4 separate regions of the Homo sapiens genome follow, and regions 1, 2 and 4 are each linked to region 3. Evidence: promoter capture Hi-C in 16 types of primary human blood cells and fetal thymus (Javierre and others, 2016). All regions are on one chromosome and are shown on one strand. Each heading gives the region's core, a stretch centred on a gene start or on the middle of the fragment in contact. The rest is flanking DNA. Distances are from core to core; before and after follow the strand shown.

Region 1 (2,700 bases), core at 129-2,628, 360 kb after region 3:
TTGTTTCTACAAAAAATTTTTAGAAACATTTGACTCTGACCACATTAGGCCTCTATTCCCACATGGCAACAATCCATAGAAGCTGAGTGGCAGAGCTGTCCTCGTTAGAATGTCACACAAACTCTCTAGCCTGCCACAATTCCTGCTGCTCCTTTTTATTGCCCTAAAACTTGTTATATCATACTTGCACTATTGATTTCTTATAGTGGGATTAAGAGGAAAATGAGATATATTTCTCATTCCTGTGTTTGTCAATTTTAAAAATACCTTTATTCATTCCTTACCTGTGTGGCCCATGTAGACCTGTTTGCAACCACTGCACAGAAAGGTTCTATTCTAAACAGGATAGCCACAGCAGCCACTGGGAAATAGCGGTTTGTAGTAGGCACAGTAACTAGACCTGCCCCCTCCCAAACAAAAGCAGTTCCTCTAACACTGTGATGTAGCATCCTGTTGGCCAGTTGTAACCCACAGATATGTTATGGTTGGCTTTCGTGGTATTTATTATCATTTAAAAAATATTAATGAATGCCTTTTAAAAGGTTATCCAGTTGCCAGTTTTCTACTGCCTTACCTCCAAATAAGCATTAATTGTTTGCTATTTGCCTCTCCAGGGATATGCATGTGCTACCTCAGGTCTGAAAGTTTTAGGATTGGGAAGTTTATTCATCTGTGGTAACATTTCTTACTTCCAATGCCAGCTCTACCCCCATGGAATCGCTGCCTACTGGAAGTGCTGTCCCCAAGAGCAGTGGCAGGATGACAACACTCTCCCAGCCACATTCCCTCCATGGCCTGCAACAGGGCCCAAGGTGTGCACTCACTCAGTGACAGTGTCTTGGAACCAGACCCACAGCTCTGCACCTGATGGGGCCTGCAGGAAGGGTGGCCCCCAGTATCGGGTCCTCCAAAAGCCTTGTGTGAATGACAGGTGCAGCTCCCGTAGAGAATACTTGGAGATCAGCTGCCCCAGGGCTTTGGGAAAGAGCCTGTAATGGGACACTGGGGAAACGGGAGCAGGTGAGTGACGATCCCCACCTCGTCGGGGTCCACACCCAGGATCCCGAACTCTACCCAGGAATTAGGCCCCGCCCCCAAAGTTTGCCTTCATCCCACGGCCGGCCAGCCAGCAGGCACTACGGAAATCTTTCCCTGGTCAGATCTCGCGCCCTCACCTCCTTCCCGCTGAAGCTCCGAATCCCAGCGCGTGCGGAACTGGAATGTGGCGGCTACGTCCCCGGAAGGCAGCGGGGTGATGACAAGTTCCTCCCGCAGGCTGTCGCGTGGGGGTTCTGCAAGGCACCAGCCGCCGGGCCCCAGGAGCAACAGGACGAGCAGAGCAAGCGGCATAGCCGCCGCCATGCCTGCGGCTACTTCCGCCTACCCAGCGGCGCTCGGCCCCATGAAAAGCCGGTATCCAATAAGAAAGGCGTGTGAGAAGTGACTTCCGCTGTCGTCCCGGAAACCGGGATGCGGTTATCAGAGCGACCGCCTGCGCAGGTCGCGAAGATTCCCTCAGAGCTGGTGGGTCTAAGGGGGTACTGGGAGGACACGAGAGGGAGTAGGCAGGGCGAGTAACCAGCTTGAGGCCGCACCTAGTTCATGGCGTATTCCACCCACCAGGAAATGCTTAATAATATGAAGCTCCTTCACTGCCATTTTACCCATTTGATAGTTGAGGAAACATTGACTGAAAAAGATCAATTACTTTTGGGAAAACCATTGTGGTTTTAATTTGCATTTCCCAAAGTAAGAGGAACCTCCTGCCCCTCTTAGCTTCTAGTGTCTCCATTTGCTGCAAAACCCCCAAATAAGTGGTTCTTTTATTACGAAAATGTTCAAACAAAATTGAAAGAATGAGCACCTGTTACAATAAACCTATTTTCCACCACCTAGATTCTACTATTTACATTATACTATACTTGTACTTTACCACATATTTGTCTATACATCCATCATTCCATCTTGTGTTTTGGTGCACTTCAAAGTAAATTGCAGACATTAGTACACTTTCCTTTAAGTAGTTAAGCATGCATATAATTAACTAGAGTTCAGTATTCGATTGCATTTTGATGTAAAATTCACATACAGTGAAATGCACAAATCCAAAGTACACATTCACTGAGTTTTGACAAATGCACACACCTATGTAACCCGAACTCCTATCATGATACAGAACATTCCTAAAACCCCAGAAAATTAGCAATACCCTTTCCTAGTCAATCCCTGCTCCTCTATCACCTTCCAGAGGCAGTTAGTACCCTGATTTTTTCCCACAATAGATTAATCTGTTCCAGAACTAAATATAAATGAAATCATATAGTATGTATACTGTGTAAGGCTTTTTTTTTTCTCATGGGAAGAATGTTTTTGAGAATCATCCATGTTCTTGCATGTATCCACAATTCTTTTTATTACTGCGTAGTATTATTAATTTATCCATTCAACTCTTGATGGGCACTTTTAAAGTTTTTGGTTATTATTAACAAGGCTGCTGTCTGTGCAAGCTCCTTTGTAGACGTATATTTCTCATATCCTTTGGCCAGGTATTTAAGAGTGGAATTGCTGGGTCAGAGAGCAGGTGTATGTTTAATTTTATAAGAAACTGTCAGACCTTTCTCCAAAATGTATCATTTTATGTTTCCATAAACTATGAGTCTCCATTGTACCACATCCTGGTCAGCATTTGAAGTTTCTAAT
Region 2 (2,700 bases), core at 120-2,619, 470 kb after region 3:
GCAGCTGCATCTCTGATCTGTCCTGCAGGCTCAGGTGAGTCAAAGGATTGGGAGGCACTGAGGGGTCTGCAGGGGAGTAGGCATCAAGCCAGGTCAGGCGAGTGTATTTTAGCAGAGACGCTGCCTAGGGTGCCCTATCTGATTTGCAGTGCCCTTCCCCACTTCTGCAGGGTCCTTTCCAAATCGAGCCCCCACCCTCAAAGCCATCAAAATAGGATCATCCCTTTTCTACTCTCATCCCTCCAGGAACCCCCTGAAATGTCCCTAAGGGACTTTTGAGAATTTATTTACAGGCCTCTCCTCCCTTGCTGCTCCACTCCCTCAACCTCACCTCAGGGCATCTCTGAATCTTTCTTTTTTTAATGCAAGGATTAACTCCTCAGAGGAATCCCAGGTTCTAGTATCAGTCCTGCCACGACATCGCCATGTACCCTTCAGCAAGACACTACCCTCTCTGGACCTAGTTCCTTTCTTTGTAGAATGAGGGGTTTGGAAAGGTGATGAACTTTGAGGCATTTGCTATTTTGACTTTCTAGGATTCCTGGGGTGGAGGCAGGGTGCCAGGTGAGAAGTTGGCTCAGACCAAGAATGGGATGAGGGGAACCTTAACCAAGATTTAGGGGCCCAGAGGCATCTCCGGGTAGGAAAGTATGGGAGGTGGCAGAGGCCCCTTGTGCCTTAGCCCTCATGCTGTCCAGGGATGTTGGCTTTGCCTGTGGCCCAAGCTTGACAAGGGTTCCCCGCCCTCCCACTTCCACCAGCGCTGCCACATCTTGCTTGGTCACCCTCCCACGACGGGCCCTGCCAGAGGATTTATGTTCTTCTACCAGGCCTGGGAGGGGAAAAGGGAGAAGAATCCGGGATGAGAAGGTCGCCTGGAGTGAGAAGCAGGCACTGGCCTCGCTCAGAATAGGCGCATTCACGGAATTGGGGGGCGGGGGCGGAGCTGCTGTTGGGTTAGGGGCAGCTGGCCCTCTCTGCCAAGAAACAGCAACAGAAAAATGGCTAACACAGCTTCAGCATGGGGCGCGGCGGTGGGGTAGGAGCTGGAAGGAAATGAGGTTTAGTGAATTCTAGGCGCCAGGGGGCCTCAAGAGAGAGAAGGGGAACCAGGAGCCCTAGGTTCTAATCCTGCTTTTGCAGTTCGGCGGGCTGCCTCCTTGGGGCTTAGTTTTCCTATTTGTATAGTGGGGAGGGGGTGGGGGGGTGGTCCTTCGTAGTTCTCACGGGGCGTCTCCGGGGCCTCGGGAGGGTAAGCGCTCACCTGCTGCCCCTGCGGGGTCCATGGTGGCTCCACGGGGCCCCAGCCGCTCACCCGCCGCCCTCTGGACGAGTCCAGTGCTGCTGTCGCTGGAACCCTGCACACCCCTGCTCCTCGGCTCTTGCGCGGGTTATATCCTGTCCAGGCCTTATCTCCAAGGCCCCGGGCCCCGGCCCCCTGTTTGCTCGGGGTGGGCGCACCTGCTGGGCAGATGTGGGCTTCCCACGCCCCCTGCCATCTCGGGCGCCCCCTGGCGGTCGCTCCTGAGAGCAGGCGGGAAACAGGCGCCAAGCCGCGCGTTCTCGTGCGCAGTGGGTTTTGGTCCACTCGCTGCCACGCCACCACGCTCAGCCCCGCAACAGGGCGCAGCCCCTCCCTGCCGCCTGCGGTTGGGCAGTGCATGTCTGTGTTTGTGTGTGTGGAGGGGTCTGGGGGGGTTGGCGAGTTGCAAAGACAGCCACACAGAAGCCTGTGTGCGTAGGGGAGTGGGCCGAGGTGGGGAAGGGCTTCTGTCTGCAGAGGTTCGCCTGGCAGGAGGAGAGGCACCAAACGCCCAGGCTGGCTCACAGAAACTAGCAGGCGTGGGATTGTATCCTGCCGCAGCCACTTTTTGGCCGAATGACTTTGGGTACCAGCGCTTAACTTTTCTGAGCCTCAATTTCATTGTCTGTATGATGGGGGACAATCACAGCCTTAGTCTTACAATTGCAGAGAGGATTAAATGCCACAATGCGTGAAGAGCATTTAACACTGTGCCTGACATTTAAGGAAGACCTGTTTTTTTCTGTTTAAATTTTGCATATTTGTATCTATGTATCTATTCTTATTTACCATTCTCTTGTGGGCCGAGCGCGGTGGCTCACGCCTGTAATCCCAGCATTCTGGGAGGCCGAGGTGGGAGGATCACCTGAGGTCAGGAGTTTGAGACCAGCCTGACCAACATGGCAAAACCCGCTCTCTACTAAAAATACAAAAAATTAGCCAGGTGTGGTGGCAGGAGCCTGTAATCCCAGCTACTCGGGAGGCTGAGGCCGGAGAATCGCTTGAACCTGGGAGGCAGAGGTTGCAGTGAGCCGAGATCATGCCACTGCACTCCAGCCGGGACGACAGAGCAAGACTCTATCTAAAAAAAAAAAAAAAAAGAATCTCTTGTGTTTCCCAGCAATCCCACTGTGATGAGAATTTTTTAATTCTGAAACATTTCAAACATACACAAAAATAGAGAGATTAGTAAAATAAACCTGTAACTGTCTTCCCCCTCCAAGTGCCTATCACCCAGAATAAGAGCTCTGTAAATACTGTTGCTTTTCTATTTTCCTTCCTCCCTCCAGGCTCTGACACCTCCATTCTCTGTCCCCAAGCGCCATGAGAGGCCTTCTTTGCTGGCCCGTGTTGCTGCTCCTTCTTCAGCCCTGGGAAACCCAGCTCCAGTTGACAGG
Region 3 (2,700 bases), core at 110-2,609:
ATGGGAGAGCTAGAGGGTATGTGTGTGCCTGTGGGATTGTACGATTTACATATTTAGGACAGATGGGTAATCCATTCTTTGTGAGGACACTGAAAATGGGTTTTGGTTGGGTGTGGCTAGGGAAGAGATGGGTGGAAACTAAACTGAGAGTGACTTGCCATAGATGTCTTTCTCAAGCCCTGGTGGGGGTGGAGGTCAGTCTCTTTTAGACCTGCTGACCTTCTTTCTTTTATTGGAGAATGTGGGTTGAGGGTGGAAACTAAACTGAGAGTGACTTGCCATAGATGTCTTTCTCAAGCCCTGGTGGGGGTGGAGGTCAGTCTCTTTTAGACCTGCTGACCTTCTTTCTTTTATTGGAGAATGTGGGTTGAGGGTGGAACAAGGGTGAGTGGCTAGTTTTTTTTTTTTTTTGAGATGTAGTCTCACTCTGTTGCCCAGGCTGGAGTGCAGTGGCGCAATCTTGGCTCACTGCAACCTCTGCCTCTCAGGTTCAAGTGATTCTCCTGCCTCAGTCTCCCGAGTAGCTGGGACTACAGGCGCGCTACCATGCCTGACTAATTTTTGTATTTTTAGTAGAGACGGGGTTTCACCATGATGGCCAGGCTTATCTTGAACTCCTGACCTCAGGTGATCTGCCTGCCTTGGCCTCCCAAAGTGCTGGGATTACAGGCGTCAGCCACTGTGCCCAGCCGAGTGGCTAGTTTCTTATAGATGTTGGAATGTTCCCACCTTGGACCTCCTTCCTTGAGGGCCAGCCCTTGGCTCCAAGACAGGCAGTTTGTCCCCTCCAGGTAGCTTTATTTTAGGGAGGGGATATCCCTAGGTTCTTGGGACCAAGATAATTTTTTAAAGTTATGTTTTTTATTTATATGAAATGGATTATATTGTGTATCTTGGAGATCTTTCATGTCATCACGTATATTCTTTTAATAGAACTCTATGAAATGGGTAATTTATTTAACTAGTTATCTTTTTTTTTTTTTGAGACGAAATCTTGCTCTGTCGCCTAGGCTGGAGTGCAGTGGCACGATCTCCGCTCACTGCAACCTCCGCCTCCTGGGCTCAAGCAATTCTCTTACCTCAGCCTTCTGAGTAGCTGTGCCTTTGACTGTTTTAGTAGAAACCCTGTCTCTACTAAAAATACAAAAATTAGCCGGGTGTGGTGGTGTGATGATATAATGATTTTTAAAAAAACTATGTGCATGTATTCGAGTTTTTAAATAAACAACAAAATGATAAAACAGTGGAAGAGGGATCTGCCAAAATGTTCAGCAGCCCATCACACAGACACTGGCCCTTCCCAGTTCCCTGCAACATGATCCTGGAGTCATGGATGTTTCTGGGTTGGCCACTGCGAGGTTCATGCCAGCCACTCTTTTTCAGATCAGGCAACATTGACATGTCTACTGTACTGAAAAGAGATAAATGTTCTGAACCAGGTAGAAACCAGAATTTCACATGCCAGGATGAAAACAAGGGGGAGAAGGCACAGACACTCAGCAGTGGTCGGGTGCAGTGGCTCACGCCTGTAATCCCAACATTTTCGGAGGCCAAGGCAGGCAGATCACTTGAGGTCAGGAGTTCAAGACCAGCCTGACCAACATGGTGAAACCCCGTCTCTACTAAAAATACAAAAATTAGCCAGGCTTGGTGGTGCACGCCTGTAATCCCAGCTACTCAGGAGGCTGAGGCAGGAGAATTGCTTGAACCTGGGAGGTGGAAGTTCCAAGTGAGCCGAGATCCTGCCATTGCACTCCAGCCCGGGCGACAAGAGCGAAACTCCATCTCAAAAAAAAAAAAAAAAAAAAAAATCATCAGTATGGTAGAACTTTCAATGAAAAACAACAGTCTGGGAATCCTCTCATATTGCAGAATGATGTTCTGTCAGGGTGGAGAGTGGGACTGGAGAGACAGGTGTGAGCCCCAGGCACAGCTCAGGCTGAGCAATGGGAGAGCTGCTCCTTGCAGACCTTTCCTCCTCGTCTGGAGGCTCACCCTTTCCAGAGGGAGCTGCTGACCTGCTTACAGGTAGCAACGTCGAGAGAGATAGAGAGATAGATAGATGTATAGAGAGATAGAGATGGAGATGAGAGAGAGATAGAGATGAGAGAGAGTGCTGAAGGGTTAAATTTGAAAGCTGGCGGTTAAAGGCTGAGCTGGGGCCAAATTCCCACCCCCAGGTCTTTCTGGGCAGCTTTCTCTACTGTTGGACCCTGAACTAAAGAAGCCATTAGAACCTTTCCTTCCTCAGGGTTTAAGTCCATTTCAGCCTTGGTCCTGGGGTGGAAATGACCCAGGAGCAGGTCTCAGTGGACCGTGATCCTACTCTCTCACCTTGCACCCCGAAATTAGCCTCTGACCAGGTTGAAAAGCCACCCTTCTCCCCCGCCCTGCTCCTCAGCTTCCTCATCGTGGGCAGGAATGTCTGGGGCTCCAGTGTAGGCTGAGAAAGACTTGTTCTTTGACCAGAACCACGCAGCTCCTCCCTTCTCCACCCTGCTTCTTGACCATCTGGTTGTAGAAATCTCAGACTCCATATGTGCCCTTGGCCCCAGCAATACCATGGGCCCCTGCAGCCTCCACTGCTCCCGTGGGGGCATGATGTTATTGGTAAGGCGTGTAAGTGGGGTGAGGAAGGCAGGAGGCCCAGAGCGTATCCTGGCAGTGGGTTGCTCTTGAGTTGGGAGAGGTGTCTTTCCT
Region 4 (2,700 bases), core at 101-2,600, 420 kb after region 3:
ACTGCTAAGAATGGTTTTTGCATTTTTATTTTTTATTTTTTTGAGACGGAGTTTTGCTCTGTTGCCCAGGCTGGAGTGCAGTGGGGAGATCTCAGTTCACTGCAACCTCCGCCCCTCGGGTTCAAACGATTCTCCTGCCTCAGCCTCCAGAGCAGTTGGGATTACAGGCGCAGGCAACCATGCCTGGATAATTTTTGTATTTTGTAGAGACGGGGTTTCAGCATGTTGGCCAGGCTGGTCTCAAACTCCTGAGCTCAAGTGATCCGCCGCCTCAGCCTCCCAAAGTGCTGGGATTACAGGCATGACTCACTGCATCCGGCCTGCATTTTTATTATAAAATGTCATTTATTTATTTATTTATTTATTTATTTATTTATTTATTTATTTTTGAGACAGGGTCTCACTCGGTCACCCAGGCTGGAGTGCAGTGAGCGATCATGGCTCACTGCAACTTTCACCTCTCTGGCTCAAGCAGTCCTCCCACCTCAGCCTCCAGAGTAGCTGGGCCACAGGGGTGCACCACAATGCCTGGTTAATTTCTTTAAAAACTTTTTGTAGAGATGGGGGTCTCATTATGGTTGCCCAGGCTGGTCTCCAATTCCTGGGCTCAAGGGATCCTCCTATTCCTCGGCCTCCCAAAGTGCTGGGATTACAGGCGTGAGCCATAGAGCCCAGCCGATTTTTGCATGTTTAAATGGTTGGGAATAAAGTCAAAAGAATAATAATATTTCGTGACACATGAAAATTATATTAAATTCAAATGTCGGTGTCTATAAATAATGTTTTATTAGGACCTAGCTGCCCTCATTCCTTTAGTATTTATGGCTGCTTTTGAGCTACGACGCTCGAGTTTGAATAGTTGCCACAGGGATCGTATGGCCCGCAAAACCTAAAATATTTAGCCCTTTACAGAATAGTTTGCTGTCCCCTGTCTTAACACGGTTCACATCCCATTTGGGAAGTTCTGTGTCTTCAGAGGGGAGCACACCCGGTATGAAGGCTGGTCTAAACTCAACACCCTAGGGAAGTCCTTCCCGTCCCTGGGCCTTAGTTTCCCCAACTATAAAATGGGGTTAGCCGCAGTGATCTCTGGGGACCTGCCTGGCAGTGGGTCAAATAAATAAAGGGAGTTGGAGCTCCCGGAGGGTAGGACTAGGGGTTGAGTAGGAGCCGGCGGGCTCGGGCAGGGCGGGTCCCTTGGGGTTTCCAACTCCGCGGGCGGGCGCAGTGCCCCGCAGGCCTCGCTTCCACTGGGGAATTCCGGGCGGGGTGCGGGCGGCGGGGCGGGGGCGGGCCGGGGCGGGGCCGGTAGGCCGCCTATAAGATGGGTGGCGCGCCCGCCCGGGGCCACTCGCCGCAGCCTGCGCGCCTTCTCCAGTCCGCGGTGCCATGGCCCCCGCCCGTCTGTTCGCGCTGCTGCTGTTCTTCGTAGGCGGAGTCGCCGAGTCGGTGGGTGCTTGGAGGTTCCCGGGCTGGGGGCGAAGCGGGGGCGCAGGCCGGTGCCTCCTTTGTTCGTCGGAGCGTGGGATGGGGGGGGGCAGATCGGGGGTACGCTACCCCCAACCGGACACCGAGGCCCGGGAAACTTTGTTGGAAACTTTGCTCCGGGGTCACGGGCCAGCCTCCGGGATGGCTTCACGCGCCGTGCGCCCCTCGCCTGTTGCTCTTCCCGCCTCCCCGGGCCTCAGCCCCGCCGCGGGCTACGGGCTCGTTAGTGACTAAGCCGGTGTCAACTCTTCAACTCCCACACCCTCGTCCCTTCCCTGGTGACCCTGGGGCAGGCTTGGAGCGCTGAATCCCCTCCTCGCTCTCGGGGCGCCCAGAGCAGACAGCTTTAGGATCCGAGATGGCCCTGGGGGTCGGGGGGCTGCGTGTACTCGGAAGGGGGAGGGTTTTAGGGTTGTGCGAGGCCCTCTTTCACACACCAAGGAGAACTGAGCCCTAACCTCAGTTCTGGCCCCAGCTCTGTCATTGACTTGTGACTTAGGGCAAAGTCCTGCCCTTCTGAATCTCTTCCCAATACTGCACCAAGGGTCTGAGGGAATGGGGCAAGAGGGGACACTGCGTTAGGGTTTCTAGAAAGTTGGGGACTCTGCTCTTTTCGAGGACAGAGGAGAGGAATGGTTTAGACTCAACACTTAGCCAGGAGCTGAGCCTCTGCTTTCTGCAAGAAGTGTGTTCATTTTTTCTCAATTGCAGATAAGAAAATTGAAGCATCCACCTTGAGTGAGGTGAAGGGGGTAGGGGGGAGAGAAGGCCTCAATCAGCCCAGGGAAACCTTTCCTTCTCACTGTCCACTGGCCTCCGTCATAGCTGTCCCTGGGCCAGCAGAAGCTCTATCCATGCCCGCAGCCGGCTTAGGAGGAGGGGGGCAATCTCATCTGGGAAGTTGGGGGGCATGGGAATTACTGGTGAAGGCAATCTGTCCCCCACAGCCTGAGCTTTGTGCCCCCTTTGTGCCCTTTAGCCCCAGTTTTCAGAGCGAGTGAGTCCTTGCAGTTTAACCATTAATGTTAATTTCTTTGAAAGCCTTGGGGCTCCTGTTCCTCTGAATTTACTTAGCGGAAGGTTGATTCTGCCTGCAGGCTCTTCTTGAGGAATGAATGAGACCCTAGGCAATACTTCCAGCACAATTCCAGGCATGCCATGATGATTGCAAACGTGGAGCGCCTTTGTCGGGGGGCCAGACATTGCTCTAAT

The links. The method cuts DNA at HindIII sites, captures the fragments that hold promoters and counts their contacts. A CHiCAGO score of 5 or more calls a contact.
Region 1: a contact is called between the fragment with the promoter of PIGT here and a fragment that was not itself captured in region 3, in 13 of 17 cell types (M2 macrophages, endothelial precursors, M1 macrophages and 10 more). The highest score is 14.1, in M2 macrophages.
Region 2: a contact is called between the fragment with the promoter of RBPJL here and a fragment that was not itself captured in region 3, in 17 of 17 cell types (naive CD4 T cells, total B cells, total CD8 T cells and 14 more). The highest score is 23.1, in naive CD4 T cells.
Region 4: a contact is called between the fragment with the promoter of SDC4 here and a fragment that was not itself captured in region 3, in 12 of 17 cell types (M0 macrophages, total CD8 T cells, naive CD8 T cells and 9 more). The highest score is 7.4, in M0 macrophages.

The regions. Positions count from the first base shown.
Region 1 is chr20:45,414,819-45,417,518 of GRCh38, reverse strand. PIGT (phosphatidylinositol glycan anchor biosynthesis class T) reads right to left here and starts at 1,378. Exons shown (of 12, transcript NM_015937.6): 1 at 1,176-1,378; 2 at 825-1,002. The coding sequence starts at 1,362. It overlaps LOC107985405 (a long non-coding RNA gene), which reads left to right. Exons shown (of 2, transcript XR_001754640.2): 2 at 702-2,700. The HindIII fragment of the contact is 8,427 bases long and covers 1-2,700 here.
Region 2 is chr20:45,305,509-45,308,208 of GRCh38, reverse strand. It overlaps RBPJL (recombination signal binding protein for immunoglobulin kappa J region like), which reads right to left and starts at 1,369. Exons shown (of 12, transcript NM_014276.4): 1 at 1,265-1,369; 2 at 1-66. The coding sequence starts at 1,286. MATN4 (matrilin 4) reads left to right here. Exons shown (of 10, transcript NM_001393530.1): 1 at 1-34; 2 at 2,593-2,699. The coding sequence starts at 2,627. The HindIII fragment of the contact is 8,457 bases long and covers 728-2,700 here.
Region 3 is chr20:45,771,479-45,774,178 of GRCh38, reverse strand. No RefSeq gene overlaps it. Among named protein-coding and RNA genes, the nearest start is that of WFDC3, 19 kb to the left of the region's middle. RefSeq lists enhancers at 1,926-2,518, 2,519-2,700. The HindIII fragment of the contact is 3,130 bases long and covers 1-2,700 here.
Region 4 is chr20:45,347,074-45,349,773 of GRCh38, reverse strand. It overlaps SDC4 (syndecan 4), which reads left to right and starts at 1,350. Exons shown (of 5, transcript NM_002999.4): 1 at 1,350-1,449. The coding sequence starts at 1,390. The HindIII fragment of the contact is 6,082 bases long and covers 1-2,700 here.